Regions from separate parts of the Homo sapiens genome. Here region 2 is linked to region 1. Evidence: promoter capture Hi-C in 16 types of primary human blood cells and fetal thymus (Javierre and others, 2016). All regions are on one chromosome and are shown on one strand. Each heading gives the region's core, a stretch centred on a gene start or on the middle of the fragment in contact. The rest is flanking DNA. Distances are from core to core; before and after follow the strand shown.

The links. Contacts are between HindIII fragments. The CHiCAGO score rates a contact against its expected background, and 5 or more counts as called.
Region 2: a contact is called between a fragment that was not itself captured here and the fragment with the promoter of TMEM105 in region 1, in 1 of 17 cell types (monocytes). The highest score is 5.6, in monocytes.

The regions. Positions count from the first base shown.
Region 1 is chr17:81,328,539-81,332,335 of GRCh38, forward strand. It overlaps TMEM105 (TMEM105 long non-coding RNA), which reads right to left and starts at 2,136. Exons shown (of 3, transcript NR_165247.1): 1 at 1,606-2,136. RefSeq lists enhancers at 1-476, 477-1,048, 1,049-1,618, 2,762-3,332, 3,333-3,797. The HindIII fragment of the contact is 4,997 bases long and covers 1,484-3,797 here.
Region 2 is chr17:81,402,343-81,406,139 of GRCh38, forward strand. The region is part of intron 2 of BAHCC1 (BAH domain and coiled-coil containing 1); the gene reads left to right. Among named protein-coding and RNA genes, the nearest start is that of MIR4740, 3.5 kb to the left of the region's middle. RefSeq lists enhancers at 1-454, 3,246-3,797. The HindIII fragment of the contact is 5,924 bases long and covers 1-3,797 here.

The DNA.
Region 1 (3,797 bases), core at 886-3,385:
GGGCATTCTGTGTGCCCCAGAGCCTGAGTTCGCAGGCTCTCAGCAGCCCGTGCTGGGCAGCAGTGTGGGCGTCTCTCCCGCAGGGCACCCTCTGCACTTTCCTGCAGACCTGCAGCAGCCCTTTCCTGAGGGACACCTGGCTCCGGGCCCAGGGTGGGGGCGGGGCCTCGCGTGTCTCCCCCTTGATTTGTAAGAGTCCAGGGCTGTCGGCCATGGCCACACTGAGCACCCCTGGGAGCCAAGGCAGCTTAAGGACAAGGTGTGTATGAGGACGGCGGGGCCCAGGGAGGAGAGGCTAGCCCAGGGCTACCCGGGTCCCCGGAGTAGGGGCAGGGGACTTGAAAATGAGCCCCCAAGGGGCTCTGATGGGGGCAATTCCAGGAGAGGCGTGGGCAGGTGTGGGGCTGGAGAGAGGCCTGTCCTTTTTCCCTTGCCCTGCACACTGTCTGCAGGGTGGCAGACCCAGGCTGCCTGGCGAGGCTGCTTCTGGAGGCCTGAGGAAGGCTGGGCTGAGGACTCCGCCTCTCCTCAAAGCCACAGCCTCCCTGCTCTGGGGCTACATGTCGGGAAAATCCCTGCCTGGGTTACCCCAGCTGGGGACTCAAGCTCTCTTTGGACCCTACAGAAAGAGCTGGCCAGCCCCCAGGCCAGAAGGGCCGTCCGTGACCCACAGATGGCCCCAACACACTGTAAAACACGCATGATTTATTTTAGTGTGTGTTAGAAAAATAAAGCCAACACATCAAGCCTGCAATTTCGCAGATACTAACACTTCGGACCAGGAAAAAAGAAGCCCATGACATGGCACAGCGCTGTGGAGCGAGCGAGATCTGGGATGCGTAGGCCTGGACGGCTGAGGCTTGGAAACCCCTCCCCTCCCCAAACTTTCCCACCATGCAGGGGCCCAGCAGGCCCTCAGCCCACTCACCCCGCCAGAGGAGGGAGGAGGGAGGAGGGTCCGGGCCAGGTGGGAGCTTCTCCCCGGAGGCCTGAGGCAGCTTCCCTCCTCTCCCAGGAAGGGGCTGGCCCAGGCCCAGCTAGGATGCTCCCAGCCCAGCTCCTACCCGCCGGGTCTTTCCCGTTTGTCAGGCAGGCCGGCAGGCTGGGCTGGTGACTCATGACTGGCTGGGCCATCTGCCCTGCACCCCTGCCCCGGGCGAAGTGAGAAACCTGACCGGGCTCCAGCACAGACAGGAAACCCCACCCCAGGGCCTGCAGTGGGACAGGTGTGGCCGCCCTCCACCCCCACACAGGCCTCGGGGAGGGTGTCTGAGGCCGGCCTGGCCCTCTCTGCAGCACTGAAACACCAGCTGCCTCTCCCCAGCCCGGAACTGGGGATCCAGTGTCCTCCGCACTGACCCCAGGCTCTGCTCTCCCTGGGAAGCACCCGCTTTGACAGTGGGGCCAAGGACTGGGGTTCCCACCCTCCTCTGCCCAGTGGACTTTGTGGCCCCAGGCAGGTGGCATCAGCTCTCTGGGCCTAAGCTTCTCATCTCTGCAGGGTTCATCAGCTCAACAAGCATTTGTGGGTTCCTGAGACCTGAAGGCTCCACTCCCCCACCTAAGCACACAACAGTCCAGGCACCACCCACATCTCCCTCTTACCTGGAGCAGAGGGGCGGGTGTTCGGAGCCTTGGGGCCCAGGGTCATTTGCACTGGAGGGGGCCAGGAACGCTCCCAGGAGTGTGGCAGTCCCTTCCTAGGGGGCCCCTCCTGGAGCAGCTGCCTTGAGAGCCCAGCCTACAGCAGAGCCTGGTGGGGTGGCCGGGCTACTGCTACCTGGCTTCACTGCTTTCTTCTGCCATTCCTCCCAGGCTACCCAGGAGGACGAGAGGGGCAGGGTACTGGCGGCAGCAAGAGAGAACCCGCCCAGGAGGGCCCAGCACGGGAACTCCAGCCTCCAGAGCCAGCAGAGCCACGGGAACAGGAGTTCCTCCTCACAGAGGAGGCGCTGTTGGAGGGCCAGGAGCAAACTCCCAGCAGAGCAAAATGCAGAGGTGACCAGCCCAGGGCACACCAGCCACTGAAAAACCCAACAGTGGGGGCTGCCGTGGGGATCCAGGGTTGGGGGACTCTCAGACGGCCCCCCAGGCTTGTCCCCATGCGTATTCTTTGAGCTGATGGGGACGCAGTGTTCACAGTCCTGACAGGAGGCAGGCGTGACCCCAGTCGGGGAGTGGACTTGGCCCTCTTCACACCCCCAGGGCAGAAAGCCCTGTTCAGAGGTACCAGGGAGCAGGCACAGGCCAGGGTCCGAATTCGTAACAAGCATCCGGGACTCCACATGACGCAGGTCTGAGAATCGATCCCGGGTTCCAGCCCAGCCATCATTTTCAGAGAATACGGGCCCTGTCCCGAGCCGCCAGCCATTGCCAATGGCTGCCCGGAGGAAGGGAGGAAGGGGTGCCCCCAGCTTGTGGAACCAACAAGGGCTTAATGGTAGGGCACGCCCAGGGGCAGACGCCAAGAAAGGAGAGGAGGGGGCGGGGGCTCCGGCCAGGGAAGCCGTGTCCTCTGCACCAGGCAGAACAGGGGGCTGGGCCGCCCTCAGCCTGGATCTGGCCAGGGCTGGGATGCCAGCTCTGAGAACAGGGCCCAGCCCTCACCTGCTTGGTTTGCCTCTTGCCAGGGGAAGGGGCTCAGGAAGGTTTCTGAGCTGCCCCATGCCCCTGCCTGGAGTTCCTGACCCTCGGGGGAAGCTGAGGCTACAGAGAGCACGAAGTGCAAAAGGCCTGGTGGTTGGACCCAGAGCCCCTGTCCCTGGGTCCCCGCTCCTCCCCACCACCCCGTCCCAGCTCTCCCACGCTCCCACGAGGCCACATCATCTTCTGCTCCTGCTGAGTTCCCCTTCACGCATATGAAAAGCAAATTACAGGAGGGAGAAGGCAAACCCGGGGTGAACGGGGGCCTCCTGGGACTCCTTGGACCCCCGGGAGAGCCTGTGAGGGCTTCTATGGGCCGACTGGGATCTCAGGAGCAAAATAGGGGCCCCTAGCCCACAGCGGAGGGCGACTCTAATCAGCAGAGATCGCCCAGCATGCCTTATCCTCAGCAGCTCAGGGCCACCTGTGGGGCAGGGGGAGGGGGCCTGGCCAGCTGGGTCGGCCGCCCCCGGCAAAGCCAGGGGACGCCAGGAGCGGAGCTGTGTGGTGCAGAGCAACTGTGTCCCAGGGGAGGGGGGGTCTGTCTCCGCTCCTCCCAGCTGCAGGCCCTGGGCAGCCGCAACCTCTCAGAGCCTGCCTGCCCCTCTCCTGAGGTCTGGATTTTGCCAGCACAGAGCAGGGACCTCAGCAATATGCCCAGCCTGGCGCAGGCCCAGGGCAGGCCCTCTATCCGCAGGGCATCCTCTGGTCTACAAGTTCTGTGACGACGTGGCTGGCACCAGGGTCTGAGGGCTTTGATGCTGGGGAACGTCCTTGCGCCTCTGCAGTAGATGTGAAAGTCTGTGGAGCCCGGGGACCTGGAGCAGGTGGCCTGGGTGGGGCTGCTGCCTTCTGGGCCAGGACCAGATTCCACTCCCTGGCTGGACAGCCCTGGGCACAGCGTTTAAACACCCAACACTTCAACTCTGCTCTGTGAAACGGGGATGATTCTAACAGTGCTGGATCACGGCATGGTTGGGAGGCTTGGGTGAGGTCATGTGTTCCATGATCCTGTCCACACGAAGGTCATGCAGCCTTGGGGGGCACTGGAGCGGCAGGTGTGGTTTTGGGGACCTGCCACGGGCCACAGCCCTAGACCAAGCCGGACCATCGGGACTCTTTTCCTGGAATTTGAATGCTGAGCCGAGGGACAC
Region 2 (3,797 bases), core at 871-3,370, 74 kb after region 1:
TTTTAAAATTTAGCTGCATGTATTTTTTTAAAAAAAGAATTATACCCCAGATCACTTTGCTTTGGTCTGTGTCTATATATGATCTAGTTTAGAGAGAAAAAAGCATAATTACGTTAAACAATTTTTTTGCGTCTTGTGTGCGGACTTCCACATGGCTGGTTTGGCTGCCTTGCTTCCCATTTTCCTGGATGGCTTCAGTCCGCAGGCCACAGCTGCAGCCAGCCCGCCCCTCCCTCTGCTGACTGCCCCTTGGAAAGGAAAATTGACCCGGATTCTTCCCGCCTGTCTGGGAGTAGAATCCAACCATCGGGGATGGAGGCCCTGGCCTCCATGAGGCTGCCTCTTTTTGCTGGGCTGCTCTTCCTGTGCCTGTCTGGCCTGGCACTGCCACCCCGGCTGGACTGAGGCTGTTCCTGCTGGCTGCCGGGGCTGCCTTTCCCCAACCCCACCCAACACTTTCAGAATGTCAGTCTGAGGGGCCCTGATGGGTGGGGACATGGGGCTCCCAGGCTTCTTCCATTGTTTTTCTAAAAATGAAAGTGCTGGGAGCTTTAGACTCGGGCCGCAGGTTTTATGGTAAAGTGCTGTTCCAGTAACCTTGTCACCAAAAGGTGCAATTAAAATGTTTGGAATCATTATTTTTAGTTCAGTGTTAGATTTTGTCTCTAATACAGATGGTCCGGAGGCAAAGCTGTGAAATCTAGGGGGGAGAAAAGAGAAATCAACAAGAACCAACCCAAGATTTTTCATCAGTGCTACTGCCTGGAGCCACTGGGGCTGGCGCCTCTGCTGGGAGTGTGTGTGTGATCCGAGGCAGCCCCGGCCTGGGGAGAGGCCCACATAGACAGCCCCCCGTCCTGGCTTCTGGCTGGGCCCGCTCCTGTCCTGGTCTGTACGCCTCCCCTCTCCAGGGGCCAGGGCTCCACCAAGGCACTATTTCTCATCTTGGTTTCAATAATCTGCTCAGATTCCCCTCCCGCCCCTTCTCTTGTCTTCTTTGGGGTGTAAATTGCTGAAGCCTGGGAAACCAGGTGCTCTGAGCCTGGGGTTATTGTGGGAGAAAGGCGAAGGCTCCTTCTGGTGGGAGAACTGCAAACTACTTCTTTCCTGCTGAAAAAGTGCTTCCTACCGCCAATCTCAAAAAAAAAAAAAGAAAAAGAAAATACCAAAAAACACAACCAAAAAATACCCCCAACTTGGCAGAGGAAAAAAAAAGATAATTTCCTAGTGTGAAAAGACCCCATCACAGGCTCCTCTCCCTCATCATGTGATATTTTTTTGTAAAGAAAAAAATACATTTTCTTAAATACCTCATTAACTCCATGACACGATGGAGTGTTTCTGCAACAGTTAGCAACATTAAGTAGGTGTGAAAAGAGTTACTTTCCGAAGACGTCACCCGTCCCGCTCCATAAGTGACAGAGTTAGACATCAAAGTTGCCGCGAGCCCAAAGGAGCTACGGGAATCCGGGAATGTGGGGCCGCGTGGACCGGCGGCGGTGGCCCGCCACGCCCGCCCCGCCGAAGCCCTGTTTGGAATGTGGGTTTCCCCCAGTGGGGCTCGTGCTGCCACCACGTCTGATTATCCCGGTACGGAGCCGCCGCGCTTTCTGTAGGAATATCCAGGTCACGTGAGTAATAAGGCAAATTAGTGAGCCAGGCAGAGAACGGCGTTGTGCAAATAGCACATCTCCCCTGGAAAACGCGCGTCCCCCCAAACGTTCCCCGGTTATTCTTAGAAATCTTCTCTCATCTCCCTGTGAGACAGGGTTCAACAGCCCCCACAGACAGGACAAAATGCATAGGAGGCTGTTAGAATAACATGGATGAGGCTAAAAATACCCCTCAGAAACACACATAAAAAAGCCAAATCCAACAACAGAACGAGCTAAAAATATTCCAGGCTTTGGCAAAGAGCACAGAGTTAAATAAATTATACAAGAGCCATTCATGGGAGCAAGTTGACTTTCTCTCTTACGGGAACTTGGTTCAAGCTAATAAAAATAATAATTTACTAGCCACTGAGCTTTGCATGAGTTTAAATTTAATTGGTGGGGCTTCTGGCGTTTGTCACTTCTTGGCGATTAGTGGTCTTGCCCTGGCCTGGGCCAGAGTGGGGAGGGGATGCCGAGGCTGGGGCTCCTGGCAGCAGGGTCATTGTCCCCTGAGAAGCAGGGCCTGGGTGCAAGGGCAGATTACCCAGGAGGCTGGAGGAGGATGGAGACTATTGGGGGTTCCATCCAGGAAGGCAGAAAAAGAACTGGCAAGGCACGGCTATTTTAATTTGATAAATGATTGTACACCTTTAAGAGTGTTTTAACAATCAGGATACACTCCAGCAAGTTGATAGGATGTTCGCTGTCAACTTACATATGTCATCAGAGCTGGCTGTGAGCATAAATAATGTGCGAGCGCTTGGGACAGCTGCAGTCTCTCCTGGAGGCTGAGGCGTGGCAGGTAGCACCTCTGTCCCCTGGCGGGCACCTTTGTTCTCCTTCTCTCTGTGTGTCTGGAGGCAGGGACCGGAGAACAGTCGTGGGGAATCACTGAATGCTGCTTTCATCCTGGGTGGTTTGGTTGGGGTGCCTCCTCTCTGCGGACTTTTTAGGTCTCCCCACGAAAATAAGAGTCCCCAGAACTACTTGACCAGAAAAGCCACTGTGGATATGATCTGAAGCTAGAATAGTAGCATCGTCTGGTGTGTTTTGTTTTTGTTTTTGTTTTGTTTTTGTTTTTTGAGACAGTCTGGCTCTGTCTGCCAGGCTGGAGTGCAGTGGCACAATCTTGGCTCACTGCCTCACTGCAACCTCTGCCTCCCTGGTTCAAGCCATTGTCGTGCCTCAGTCTCCCAAGTAGCTGGGATTACAGGCATGTACCACCACGCCCTAATTTTTTGTATTTTTAGTAGAGACGGGGTTTCACCATGTTTCCCATGCTGGTCTTGAGCTCCTGAGCTCAAGCAATCTGCCCACCTTGGCCTCCCAAAGTGCTAGGATTACAGGTGTGAGCCACCGTGCCCGGCCTCTGGTGTCTTTTGAGGCAGCAGATGTTTATATATAGCCACTTCCCAGGAGTTTTAAACATCCACCCTGGGGTTGGAGTAAGGGTAACTCCCTTTACTCCCTCCTCTTCCTTGGCTGTTTCTTAACTCAATCTGCCTCCCCCGCCCCCAATCCTGGCAGGGCCTTCTAACTCCCAAAGGACTATATTTCCCAGAATACCCTGATCTAGCTCCAGGGTCTGAGCCCGAGACTGTCCATGTCCCTGGGCTGGGAATTCCCAAGCACAGATAGAGTTCAGCCAGTGCCGCTGGGAATAAATACTTTCCTGGTGGAAGAAAGCCTTGCTCCATCGTGCCCCCCTGCCCTTCCTTCTGGAAGAGGCTTCTGGGCCCCCCGGTCTGGCTTCCTCCCTACCATAAATACCTGAATATAGGCCCATAACAAATGGGACCTGTCCTCTGTCCTCTGCCCTCTGGATCCTGTGAGGCAGCTACTGTGATTGTCCTGGCCAACGCCCCACCGGAGAGTCTCCCCCAACCCCCTGAGCTCAGTACATGGCATATGCCCTCTTTTGGAGTGGTCTTCTCAGAGGGGCCTGGTTGCCCATCAGCTGCTGTGGAAGCGATACAGGGACTCCTCCTGGGTAGCAGCAGGGCCAGCCTCTGCCTAGGGAGTCCCTCGAGAAAATACCGCCCAGCCTTTGGGGTGCCCCCTTGCCCTCCTGACACCCTCAAACAACAGAAGCTGCCTGCCTTCTTAATGGGTTCATCCTGAATGAGAGGTTTCCAAAAAGAA